Regions from separate parts of the Homo sapiens genome. Here all the other regions are linked to region 1. The links are contacts of gene promoters, found by promoter capture Hi-C in human tissues and cell types (Jung and others, 2019). All regions are on one chromosome and are shown on one strand. The core of a region is centred on a gene start or on the middle of the fragment in contact, and the rest is flanking DNA. Distances in the headings are between cores, read along the strand shown.

What was found. Contacts are between HindIII fragments. The study calls those that stand out against the background at their distance.
Region 2: a fragment that was not itself captured here is called in contact with the fragment with the promoter of JAM2 in region 1 in 2 of the 25 tissues and cell types used here (lymphoblastoid cells and mesendoderm cells).
Region 3: a contact is called between a fragment that was not itself captured here and the fragment with the promoter of JAM2 in region 1, in 3 of the 25 tissues and cell types used here (dorsolateral prefrontal cortex, lymphoblastoid cells and mesendoderm cells).
Region 4: a contact is called between a fragment that was not itself captured here and the fragment with the promoter of JAM2 in region 1, in 3 of the 25 tissues and cell types used here (dorsolateral prefrontal cortex, heart left ventricle and hippocampus).

The regions. Positions count from the first base shown.
Region 1 is chr21:25,637,867-25,641,284 of GRCh38, forward strand. JAM2 (junctional adhesion molecule 2) reads left to right here and starts at 1,392. Exons shown (of 10, transcript NM_021219.4): 1 at 1,392-2,022. The coding sequence starts at 1,956. RefSeq lists enhancers at 1,025-1,164, 1,902-2,402, 2,305-2,374 and a silencer at 1,385-1,574. The HindIII fragment of the contact is 5,846 bases long and covers 1-2,393 here.
Region 2 is chr21:25,539,763-25,543,223 of GRCh38, forward strand. No RefSeq gene overlaps it. Among named protein-coding and RNA genes, the nearest start is that of MIR155HG, 21 kb to the right of the region's middle. The HindIII fragment of the contact is 7,043 bases long and covers 1-3,461 here.
Region 3 is chr21:25,744,310-25,747,588 of GRCh38, forward strand. It overlaps GABPA (GA binding protein transcription factor subunit alpha), which reads left to right. Exons shown (of 10, transcript NM_002040.4): 3 at 901-1,045. Among named protein-coding and RNA genes, the nearest start is that of GABPA, 11 kb to the left of the region's middle. The HindIII fragment of the contact is 6,409 bases long and covers 1-3,279 here.
Region 4 is chr21:25,724,425-25,727,606 of GRCh38, forward strand. It overlaps ATP5PF (ATP synthase peripheral stalk subunit F6), which reads right to left. Exons shown (of 4, transcript NM_001003703.2): 3 at 802-926; 4 at 76-253. The coding sequence ends at 216. Among named protein-coding and RNA genes, the nearest start is that of ATP5PF, 8.9 kb to the right of the region's middle. The HindIII fragment of the contact is 7,027 bases long and covers 1-3,182 here.

The DNA of each region.
Region 1 (3,418 bases), core at 142-2,641:
CAAAGTGGGAATGATAACATTTCCTCTTTTATGGAGTTGTTGGGGGATTAGATATTGCGTTATTCAGACTCCATCACTGAGAAAGCATGCAATAAAAATAGCTGTTATTATTTTCTGTCCTCCTGTAACATTTACCATGTGGTATCAGGCATCTTTCCTGATAAGACTCTGTCTCCCCTCAAGACTGTGAGCTTGTTAGCAAGAAAGCCTCTATCTTGTTCATGGTTGTCCTTCAGCATCCAGCACATTGTTGCCATTTGTCAAATGCCTTGGCTGGGTGGCAAATAAATAACTTAGTCAGTTACTCACATAGGATTGCATAGAATTTTTTTAAGTATGACATTTTTGTGTATATTTTTAGGGAGGAGTAAAAGACATATAGCTGTAGCAAGAATTAGAAAAAAGAAGATGCCAACAACTTTTCTTTTTAAGCATCAAATCCTTCTCATTACTGCCCAGAAAAACTGGCATAAGCTGTTGTTAAATCTGTGCCCCTTCTCCTCGGTTGACTGGAGTACGAGTTTTAACATTTTGCCATTTTGACTTTCCTTTCTGGGTCCCCTGGGTCCTCTCCTCCCACCCCCTCCCTGGGTACTAAGTTTTCATCACTGTCACCACGGCAACAGCAAGGATGCCTCATTCCTCACAGTTCTGCACAGCTAAACTCTGGTCGCCTTTGTCCACTGAGCTAGCTGAATTCTTTTTAAATACACCACTAAATCAACTATCTGCTGTACAGAACTTCATCCATTATTCAACCTTTAAAAAAAAACAAAAACAAAAACAAACAAAAAAACAAAAGAAAAAAACTGATGTATACTAATTTCTTCTCCTGGGAATGGCCTTTTTCCAGACCTGCCAATACTCTTGAATACACCATACATTTTTGGTCCCTAGGAACAAATATAAAAATTGCCAGTGTACGTGCGTCCAATGTAAGTGTGGTGCAATTTTAAAGCACGCAACAGAGCATTCATAATGGGTTTCCCTTTTAAAAGCACAGTAGACCAAAAATAAACCTGACAAAGGGCAGCTGTAGAGTTTTAACACGTGGAAAACTCCACAAGCAGCAGTTATGTAACTTGAAAGAAACATGATAAATATTTCACACCATTAGATGAACTTCCAACTCTGACACTGAAAAAAAAGCAAAGAACAAGAACGCGAGACAAATGCACCTCAAATCTCCAAGGAGCAAAAAGCTTAAACTGAGAAGGGACCAAGGCTGTACTAAAATCTGAGACCTGACTTCCAGCACGAGTCTTGATTGCTTTTTTTTTTCTCGAGTTCGAGGCGGAGCCCGCGAACCCCATCTCCTCAGAGCGCCACCCCCTCAGCTTCGCCCGTTGGGCAGAATTTTCCAAATATCTCCACCCCTAGGCTGAAAAGCCAGAAAGAAGTTTTGAGCCAACGAGGGGAAGAAAGGAGTTGGGGCAAAACAGGAGGCGTTTCCCTACCCGCATACATCCCCGTCCCCGAGACACCCAATCCCCCCACCCCCAGCCTGCCCGCGCCTCCCGCCCCCAGCTCCTCGCCCTGGGGACAGCTGGCAGCCCCGCGCGGACCAGACACAAAGCCGATCAATCCCGGAGGCGTGGGGGCGGAGGGACGACCCGCCGGGGCTTTCCCGGGCGCTGCTCTCCTCCTGCTGCCCCCTCGCTAGGACCCGGCGGACGCCTCGTCTGGTTTTCACGCCCTCTAGCCCCTACCCCCACACCCCCAAAACAGAACAGACCCCCATCCCTGGGCTGGAGGACCCGCCTCTTGGCAGCCAGCTGAGAAGGCGCCCCGGGGAGGGGGAAACTGACATCCCATCTAGAGCCGTCCCTCCTCTTCCTCCCCTCCCGACTCTCTGCTCCTTTCCCGCCCCAGAAGTTCAAGGGCCCCCGGCCTCCTGCGCTCCTGCCGCCGGGACCCTCGACCTCCTCAGAGCAGCCGGCTGCCGCCCCGGGAAGATGGCGAGGAGGAGCCGCCACCGCCTCCTCCTGCTGCTGCTGCGCTACCTGGTGGTCGCCCTGGGCTGTAAGTTGCTCGGGTTCCTCTACCCTTCCTGCCTGGACCAGCCTGCCCCCACCCTCCAGCCCCCCACGGGGCGCTGGCTGACAGTGTCTGGGCGGCTCTGGGCCGAGGTCGCCGCGGGGCGTCTGACCTTGCGCCCAGGCGAGCGGGAAACCCAGGGTGCCCGCGAGCGGACGCTGGGAGCAAGGGAGCGCGAGGTCGTGGGTTTCTTGTGAATTGCGTCTGATTTTGTCAGTTCTAGATACAGAAAATTAAGGGTTCCCACTAGCAGGTTCTCATCTGTTTGCAAAGTTGGGGTAAGTTTTCAGACAGAGGGACGTGATTCGAATGCAAAACTCACTACCCACTGGTAAGATGCTAAGACCCCAAGAAAGATGGCATCACTGGGAGGCGGGCGCCGGCCACACTTTGAGTCCCCGGGGAGGGGGCAGCGTCCGCGTGGTCTGGGCTCTGTAGCGTCCCAGCTGAGCCGGCGATATGCAGCGCACTTGTGGGGCGGAGGTGGAGGGAATTCGTGGCTGCTGAGCCAGAATTACTTTTATCCTCTCCACCTGCACATCTACATTCACTTAGAGAAGTCTGGTCTGGGGACTCTAGCCAGCTGCTCTGTCCTCAGGGGACATCCAACGGGACGATTGTTAGAAAGATTCAGAAGCCACATGATCCAGTAGCTGGGGAGACGTCCCAAAGCCAATTTCACCGGATGATTTTAAACAGGATTTTCACGGATTCTGGACTCATGAGATTTGAAATCCTGGGAACGTTGCCGTTATTTTGTTTTCTTCGCGTTAACTTTTTAGGAAAATGGAGGAAATTACAATAGACTAAGCAATGCAGTTCTACTTTTGCTTTTTCTTTTTTCTCTCACCTTTTTTGTTTTGCTTTTTTCCCTTCCTTCCTTCCTCCCTTCCTTTCTCTTTCTTCTTTCTTTCTCTCTCTCTTTCTTTCTGTCTCTCTTTCTTTCTTTTGTAAAATGAGTTATTGTTGCTATTCACGTTCTGGTAAAGTAACACTTATAATACTTAACCTGCGGGACGAGTGTCTAATACCACAATACAATGATATTTTCTCACGCCCTCGCTGCCCAAGTGATCATCGCACAGCTCAAGTGATGTGAGCCACGTCCCTTTGTGGAGGAGGAAGGTGCACATTGTCTCAGGCAAGGGACATGTACTGACCAATATTATATAAAGTCAAACCAGAAAGCCAAAGTTTCACAATGAAACCCTTGTGCAATTCTGAAATATCAATTGGTATCATATGGAACACACAGAAGAAAAAAAATGCACTCATGCTAAAAGGCAACAGAGAGGTAGGCTGGAGAAATCGTTAACAGAACAACTGAGAAAGTTATGTATTCTGCTGAAATTCTAAATTTCAAATAGAAAAGAGTGTGCCT
Region 2 (3,461 bases), core at 366-2,865, 98 kb before region 1:
GTGCTGGTACTTGGAATGGCCAGCTGGATCCCACACTGACTCACTCACACACACCCTCCCACCAGGGGCTGAGGGTACAGTCACGGCAGCCATGGGATCTGCGCCAGAGTGCAAGCCAGGTGTGGTCCAGTGGTCTGAGTAGACGGGGTGTCTCCTGAGGCAAGCCCAGGCCCAGGAAAGGCCTGGGCAGAGGTGTCACCAGCCAGAAAATCCTGTATCACTTTCACCTTATAACCAAATTAAATTCACTCCCTCTGGCAGCAAGCTGTTTGTTTTCAACATCATTCTAATGCTGGTAAAACTCTTATTCTTGCCAACTAACTTGGGGAAGAGGGAGTAGGCACGGTACCACTCAAAAAAATAATAATAATAATAATAAAATTTAAAAAAAAAACACTCCTACTGTTCTCTTTGAAGTTCTAGCAGTTTTTTTAAGAATAAGTGTTTCTCAATTTGTTGTTTGCCTTTAGTTGATTTCCAGTGCCCAAACTCTTCACAGCTCCATAACTGGAAGTTCTTTATCCCAGAGAGATTTGAGAAAAAAATTATACCTAAAAACGCAAGAACAGACTGTTACAAAACAAACCATGCACAAAAAGCCACTTAGAAGTATTAGAAGTTATTTTTAAGTGCTTGAATAAGAAGAAATGTAAGCTTTAATTATGAGCTAATTAGAAATTAATAAAACCAGGACAACACACATAAAAACTAATGAAATTGAGACAAAATAGTACTCAAAGAAGTATTTTAGCTTTAAGTTTATTTATAAGAAATAGAGAAAGAAATTAGAAACTCAAGAAATTAGAAAAAAGACAATAAAATAAACTAAAATAAAATAGAAGGAAGCAAAGCATAAAGCTAAAAAAGGGAAGTAATGAAATATGGAAGAGAGAATGAATCTTAGTAAATAAATCCAAGAACTATTTATTTAGAAAAGACCAGTGAAACACACAAACTTCAAGCAAGTCCAATGAATGAAAATATCACTAGAATTTAAGCTCTATAAGTGCAGATATTTTGCTTTGTTTGCCAATGTATTCCTAGCACCAAGAAAATTGTCTAGCACATATGAGTACTCTATAAATATTTGTTAAATGAAAGAATGAATGAACAAACATTTTTAAAAAGTTTAAGGCTATGAAAACAAATATGTAAGAGAATTCTTTAAATATTGTATATGATACTATAAATCTTATAAATACACTCCTCAGAGACTCAAAAGCAGACTTAAACAAATAAAAGCATACTAATCAGTCATGGCTGCAATAGTTCTGTGTAACAAATAACCCCAGTTCTTTAAAATAATAACCATATGTTTCATACTTGTAGGTCTGCAGGTTGGCTACAAATAAACTGTAATATGTTTGGCCACCCCATGACCAAATTAAGTTCAACACCTCAGAGTTCCCTGACTCTGGGTTTTGGGCTCTAAGCCCCAGGCTACACGCTAAAGGTTAGGTTCAGCTCTAATTCATGTAGCTCCATGTTCACTTTGGATCAGAGACTACTCATTGCATGCTCTTCTCATGGCCGACCACAGAAGCAAAAGAGGCCAAGTCAAATCATGCAAGCACATGACTTGTACTTTAAATGCCTTCATCCATTAACATTCCATTGTGCAAAGGAAGACACTGGGACAGGAAAATAGGCTATACCCACTCTAGGGCACTGCACAGTCATGGCAGAAAGAAGTAGTGTTAGATTGAAAATAATCCAACCAGCAACAAAATCCAGCTTTACACATAATTAAAGATATGCAAAATAAGACCACATTGAGGTAACATCTTACTCATCCAGTTGAAAAAAATTCTAAATATATTTTGTTTTTGAGGTTGTGGGGAAACAGCCATTCTCATACATTGATAGTTGGAATGCAAACTGATACAATCCTTCTGGAAAGGAATTTGGTAATCCCATGAAAAGTTATATGTGCATTTATCCTTTGACACAGCAATTCCACATCTAAATATCTATCCAAAAAATATATCAGTGTGATAGTCAGTTTTATGTATCAACTTGGCTAGGCTATAGTTCCCAGTTATTCAATCAAATGCTAATCTTGGTGTTGCTGTGAATGTACTTTGTAGTGTGATAAGTCTATCATCAGCTTACTTTTAGTAATAAAGATAATCCTAGATAATCTGGGTGGGTCTGATTTATTCAGTTCAAAGGCCCTAAAAGCAGAACTGAAGTTTCTCTGAAGAAGAAGAAATTCTACCTGTAGACTACAGCTTCAGCTTGTGCCTGGGAGTTCTAGCCTACCCTTTCCCACGGCCAGCCCTACATGTTTCAGACCTGTCTAGCCATCCCTAACAATCACACAAACCCATTCCTTACAATAAATAGCCTGCTGCTTCTCCTTCTTGGGAGGAACCCTGACTGATACAATTGGTAAAAATACAAAAGACGTATTAGGTTGGCACAAAAAGTTGGCACATTGAAAGTAATGGGAAAAACCACAGTTACTTTTGTGCCAACCTAATAAACAAAAGTAGTCATTATAGCACTACTTGTAATTATAAAAAATTTTAAAACCACACAAATGTCCATCAATTTGGGGTCTATGATGGAAGAGTATGCAACTTTATTGAGAAATTATGACTATCTCTATCTTCTGCTAGGGGATGATATCCAAGATATACTGTAAAGTAAGAAACAAAGATGGAGAAAAGTGTGGACAGCACACTGCCATTTATCTAAGAGAAAGAAGCAGATATATAGAGACATAGATATATACATATTTATATGCACACATACACACATATATGCACATATTTTTTAATTGAGGGATATAGTATAAAAATATTTTAAGGAAAACAAAGAAGAAAAAGGAGAAGACAGGAAAAGAAGGTAAAAATACCTTATTTAATAAATTTGACTTTGAAACCAGACAAATGAATTACAAAAATATAAAACAGAAATAACTCAATACCTAAAAATCAAAAGTAAATTAAACAAGTAAACTTAATTTTGCATCAAAGTAGCAGCAAACAGGAAGAAATAATTTCAAGTAACTTTAAGACAAAGTAATTGGACTGCACATCCCTGTGAACTATACTCTAAGGACAAAGAGAACTAAAAACAATTATAAAGTATTAAGCTGTTTTCAGTAATAATAGTACAGCAATAACATTGGTGCTATACATTCTGGTGTGTGTGTGCATGTGTGTGTGGTTTGAATGAAGCAAACAGTTATATTGATGCTGTTGAGGGCCAGGATATTTGGCATCAGAGAGGAGACCTGCTGGTTTAGTATCAAATACTATATGATCTCATTTGTAGGTGGAATCTAAAAAAGTTAAACTCATAGAAATGGAGAGCAGAATAATAGTTGCCAGCGTCTGGTGGCGGTAGGGAAAATGAGGAGATGTTGTTCAAAGGGTGCAAATATTCAGTTATAAAATAAACAAGTTCTGGGGATCTAATGTACAGCATGGGTGGTGATGGGTGTGTTAATTAAT
Region 3 (3,279 bases), core at 192-2,691, 110 kb after region 1:
ATAGGGAGACTCTCTCTAAAATTAAAATATAAATAAATATTTTAGAAAAAAGTTTAAGCTATATACATTCATTGAATATCATGTATGTATCTCATTTTACTTGTAATTTATGTGAAAACTTGACAGATTTTTAATGCATACTGTTTTTGACAATCACAAATAAGATTTAAATCATATTTAAATTAAACATGTTGGAATACTTAATTGAATTCCACATTCACCAATTCAGCAAATATTACTTAGTATTTGTCTATTTGGCCCTATATAAGGATTTGTAAGAGTTATGTAGGATTACTTACCAAAGATTTTAACCCTTTTGAATTCAAAGTGTGAAATAATATGAAAGAGCACTAAGACAGTTTTTAGGAAGAATATACATTTTTTTTTTAAACGTTGAGCTGTCCTGATTATAACCAGTTGTGTTCATATTAAATTAAAGGGAAAGTCTTTTATTTAACTTATTCTATTTTTATATCTTTCTTTTTTTTTATGTGGGGAAGGGAAATTGACTAGTAGAGATGGCATACAGATTTTGAGGAGACAATGTGTCTTCCTTTCTGGGTCTAAAATTCTTCAAAATAACTTGAAAATGTAATGCAAATGCAAACATAATGTATGTGCAATGTTTATATGTGTACACATACACACATATGTATGTACATACATAATGAGGCATATTTACAAGGATGCTTTAAATTTCAAGCTTAGCATTTCTCTATGAAATTCAGTGTTCATTTTGGCAACACTAGTTGGTGATGAGCCTGCCACAGTATCTATGTAGAAATGACTTTTCAAAGACCAGAAATGTGTTTTGGTTTGGGATTGTGTTTTTAGCATATTGTTGCTTTGAAATCCAGGGTAAAAAATGTAACTGTTAGCACTTACATCTTTAACATTTAGCATTGTAGAACAAACCTACGCGCCAGCTGAATGTGTAAGCCAGGCCATAGACATCAATGAACCAATAGGCAATTTAAAGAAACTGCTAGAACCAAGACTACAGTGTTCTTTGGATGCTCATGAAATTTGTCTGCAAGATATCCAGGTAATTTTTATTTTTGTAAATTTCTATTGCAACATTTTAGTCTGCATAGGAATATTTTTTGTTAGCCTTTTCTTTATAGCTATAGACTTTATCTCTGTAAGAAGATTTGACCTGTATTACTGTAAAATTTAAGTGTTTAGAAATAAAAAGGTTTTTAAGCAAAGTTTTCTCCATTTAAAGTTATATTTTAAATATTTAGTACTAAAACAAATGAAACATTTGTTTTTTACTTTCACAAATATAAAACGAGAAGTTTAAATAAATTAGAATCAAAGCTTAAATATAAGTAGTAACAGTAGGAAGCCCATTGACTTTTGAAGCTGAAGTGTATTTCTAGCCAGCTTTTAACTTCTCAAACGTATCATTTAACTAAATGATTTCTACATTTCTGTTTTACCTTTATTTTCTCTAACAGTAAGTTTTGGATAAGAATTTAAATATCAACTGATAGGTCCTGGAATTTATTGTAAAAGGATTTTACCCATGGTAGTAGTATAATATGTTATGTCTGAAACATATCCCGAGTCATATTTTACAGTATGTTTTAAAGATAGGTAGTACTTTTATGTATGAAAGGTAGCAGCCTAAATAGGATTGCCCATACAGTTTTCCATGACCTTCCTTAAACATATGATTAAATACTAGAGTTTTATACTTTTTTTTTTTCTTTTTTTTGAAATGGAGTCTCGTTCTGTCACCCAGGCTTTAGTGCAGTCGTGTAGTTTCGGGTCACTGCAACCTCCACCTCCCAGGTTCAAACGATCCTCCTGCCTCAGCCTCCTGAGTAGCTGGGACTACTACAGGCCGATGCTTCCACACCTGGCTAATTTTCGTATTTTTAGTAGACACGGGGTTTTGCTGTGTTGGCCAGGCTGCTCTTGAACTCCTGATCTCAAGTGATCCGCCTGCCTTGGCCTCCCAAAGTGCTAGGATTACAGGTGTGAGCCAGCGTGCCTGGCTGAGTTTTATACTATTTTTATATTAACTTAGATTAATGTATATTGTTTCATCTTCTGGATCGTTTGATTTATTTTATTCTTTACTCCTTCCCCTGCCTGCCTTGTGATATGGGTATTCTGTATATTACAGAACTTTTTTATTAGTTTTTTAAAAATTCAAATCATCATATGCTGCTACTATTTTTAATAAGATATTGTTGTACAATAAGTTGAAGTGTTTTAACAAAATTTGTGCATTTTATTTGCCTTTTAACCATACTTTAATCTTTTCATTTCAATATAAATCTAGTAATTGGTGGTGGGTAGGGAAGATAGAGTGCCTCTAAAACTAGGGCATGTGGGAAAGTCTAGTAGTGTTACAAATTTTAGGATTTAAAGTTTTTTTCTCTTAACAATGAGAGGATGAGTTAGCTTAGTCTTTTTGGAAGACCACCTCCCATTTAATATCTGTTAATGTTAAATGTGAAATTCCTAACAGTTCCACTTCAGCAAATTATTCCTACAGAAATGCTCACTTGGGTAGGTAAAGATATATGCATGAAGATGTTCATGGCTTTGCAAAAACTGAAAACACCTCAAATGTTCCAAAAATGAGATTTGATAGAATAGAATTCGAGGTAGCCATTAAAAACTGGTGAACTTGAGCTATATGGGCAAGGTACGTTGAGTGAAAAAAATACTTACAAAACACTCTAATTCTCTCACGTAATCTTCACATCAGTCTTTGAAATCAGCATATTTTTAGTCACATTCTGCAGATGTAGAAACAGATTTAAAGAGGTTAAATAATTTGCCCAATGTGTGGCTACAAAAGGGTATACTGGAATTTGAACCCAGACCTCTGTGGCTCCAGAACTCTCTTCACTTGTTTGAGACGAAAAAACAAAAAACTTTTTTAAAGGTTTATAGTGAATATAACTCAGTGTCACTGGACTTTGCCTGGTTTTGCTCATATGTAAAATAAAGGAGAATCTGGACTTGATCTCTTAGTTGTCTTTCAGCTGTAACATTTATTGCTTTCTTTATAACACTTGACCTATCCAAAATGAAAGTATGGCCTGCAGATTACCCAGGCTCTTCCAAGTTCTCAGAAAATAATAGTTGGATAAATGGTAATATTTATAATTCATATTGTCATAGAATTCAGGGCTAGCTTTGGATCTAAGGGCATTTTGCATTACTCCTTGTCCCCCTTTCCTCCTTAAAAAGGATATGAGGACCACACTGACATGTTCTTCATGTCAATGCAAACATACATTTCAGTCAGAAGTCTTG
Region 4 (3,182 bases), core at 254-2,753, 87 kb after region 1:
TCTGCTTTATTATAACCAAATGAAAGGATCTAAAAACAACTCTAACACACAGAACTCAATTCATCAAGAACACACTCAACATCACCAAATAATTTATTTGGACTCAGAATTAAAAGAACATTTGACAGTTATGAAATGCATGTTTATTCTGAAACTTCTAACTAGTTGTACAACTAATCCGTGACAAATTACCAGATTAATTTTACTTTATTTCTTCAGGCCTGGGGTTTTTCGATGACTTCAAATTTGGGATCTAAGAAGAGGGGGAAAAAAGGGTCAAGCTTAGCCAAATTGCAATAAAATGGATTATGTAGAATGCTCAAGATTTAACTCATCAATTTTCTGATTTTTTTAGTAAACACTGTTTGTAAACATTTACATAGAAATATAGCTAAACATTTATGCAACACTTTCTATGAGCCATGCATTCCATTAATTGACTTTGCATATATTATGTCATTTAACTACATATGCAGAAGATACTATAATTCTCCCCAAATGTCAGATGAGGAGACATGCACCAGTTAATTACTCAAGATTACACAGCTGAAAGTGATTATAAGGATTCAAGATTGGGCAGTTCGATTTCAGATCCCCACCATTTAATCACTATGTTATGTGATCTCCTATACTGCTCTTATTCTAACAGCAAACATTTAGCCGGCAGCTTCTCAGGCACACGTCATGGTCCTAATAAATTCACATGTCAACACTGTCATTCAGTTCTCTAAAAATCCAGGTAAGTGTAAATATTCTTCACTTATCCCCCACAAGAATGAATCTGTGATTTATAAGACGTACCTTCAAATTTGAAGGTGGGAAATGTATTCATGTCTGCATTACCAAACATTTGCTTGAGCTTAAAAAGCTCCCTCTCCAGCTCTTGCTGATACTCTGAACTAGCATCAACAGGTCCTCCAGATGTCCTGTTAAGTAAATGAGCAAACAAAAATTAATTTTGTGTACTAGCTTACAAAAACAAAATTACTTTTCACCACCACATTCCAACAGATCTTTTTTTTTTTTTCTTTTTTGAGACGGAGTCTTGCTTGGTCGCCAGGCTGGAGTGCGGTAGCATGATCTTGGCTCTCTGCAACCTCCGACTCCCTGGTTCAAGCGATTCTCCTGTCTCAGCCTCCCAAGTAACTGGGATTACAGGCACACGCCACCATGCCCAGCTAATTTTTGTATTTTTAGTAGAGAGGGGGTTTCACCATGTTAACCAGGATGGTCTCGATCTCCTGACCTCATGATCCGCCCGCCTCGGCCTCCCATAAGTGCTCGGATTACAGGCGTGAGCCACCACACCCGGCCAATAGACCTTTTTAAAGCATTCATGTAGTCAAAGAAAAGACTTCAGAAAGAAAATAAGTATTTCTACTTCAATTTCAATTCAAACTATTTTATTACGATGAGGTTTCACATAAATGAGGTATCCTCAAACCAATCTCTAACATTCAAGGTTTCTCAGAATCACGGACACTCACTAAGTCAGAATTTCTCAGGGTCTAAGTTGCAAAAGGTGTATCGTTAAGTCTACAGGCTCTGGAGTCAAAGACTGGTCCTGTTTGAGTGTAAGTTCAACTATTCAGCAACTGCGTAAACCTGAGTAAGGCACAGAGCACTCTAAATTTTAGTTTCCACAACTAAATATGAAGGTTCTACCAAACGAGGGTGTAAATGCACACGTACCTCTAAGCACAGTGCCTGGCACACAGTGAGTACTCAATTATTATCTACTAATATCATCTGCTTTAAGTCAGCCATCACTAAATGGCTTTTAAAGACCTTAGACTTTTAAGTTTCTACCATAGGGGTCCTATTAAAGAAGCAAATTATTTCCTACCCTCAGAGATTTTGCAATTTCGAAGAAAAAAATTACATGTTTACAAACATTTATGCTGTAAAGGAGTGATGTGATGAGCTTCAAAGACATGATTTAACAAAAAGCTATTCAAGTTGAGGAAGAGATTACTTTTGCTAAGCTAATCAGGGAAAATTTCATTTTAAAAAGGTGGCATTTGAGAAACATCAGGCATCTGGGGCCAGGGTTTATTTTGAGACCTTCTAAGATGGAAAAAGCAAAGACATAGAGGTGGTAAGGGATTGGCTGTATGTGGGGAATGCTAAGGAGTCTAGATGGAAAAACCAGCAGACCCCAGATCATGGGAGGCCCGGAATGTTAAGCCTGGGAGTTTGTATTTTATTTGCCAAGCAATAAAATGACAAAATTAGACTTGTGCATTTTGGGAAAATAAATATAGCATTATGGACCAGCAGCAGGGCCAACTGGGTCTCATTAATTCTTTGAAGAAATTCTTCTGTTTTTGTCATAAATACTACTGCCTACCTAGCAATGAACAATATTCTAAATGTAAAAAAATGTACACATGAAAATTCCTTCAAGGGTAATAACATTTTTACACATGCCTATGATCAAAGTATACAGTCTTATTTAAGTTAAAGAACATGCACAAAAAATACATAGGTGGCTCCAATTTAAGAACTTGTTATCAATATTTCTTGTTAGAGACCCAATTTTCTTTTAGATTAGCACTGTCCAATAGACCTTTTTGTGATGTTAGAAACGCTCTCTGTCTGTGCTGTCCAGTGTGGCAGCCACTAGCCATATCTGGCTATTGAGCACTAGAAATATAGCTAACATGAATGAGAAAATGAGAAACTGAATTTATAAATACACTTAATTGTAATTAGAATTTGAATAGTCTCATGGATAACGGCAACCAAAATGGACACTGCGGTTCTAAATAGATCCTTCAACTAGATACTCTAATACTGGTTACAGATGGATGATGGCTATTTTAACTTTAATATGCACTCTTGTGATAAAAAGAGGCCAGAAATCATCTACCTCCTCAACTGAATGTAAGTCTTGCTGCTTATCTTGCTTATTACTATATTCCTAGGCTCTCACATGATGCCTAGGACAAAGCAGTCACTCAGAAGATACTTGTTCATTTCACTAGCAAATACTAGGCATGCTAATGTATTGAATAATTTAATTTTTATAATATCCTATGAAATGGGTAAGTACTACCATCATCCTCCTTTTACATATGAGAAAACTGTCCTACAGAAGTTAAACCTGCCCAAGGTCATAGAGCTAATTAGTGGCAGTGCTGGATGCCAGCCCAGGGTCTACCCTCAGAACTCTCCATGTG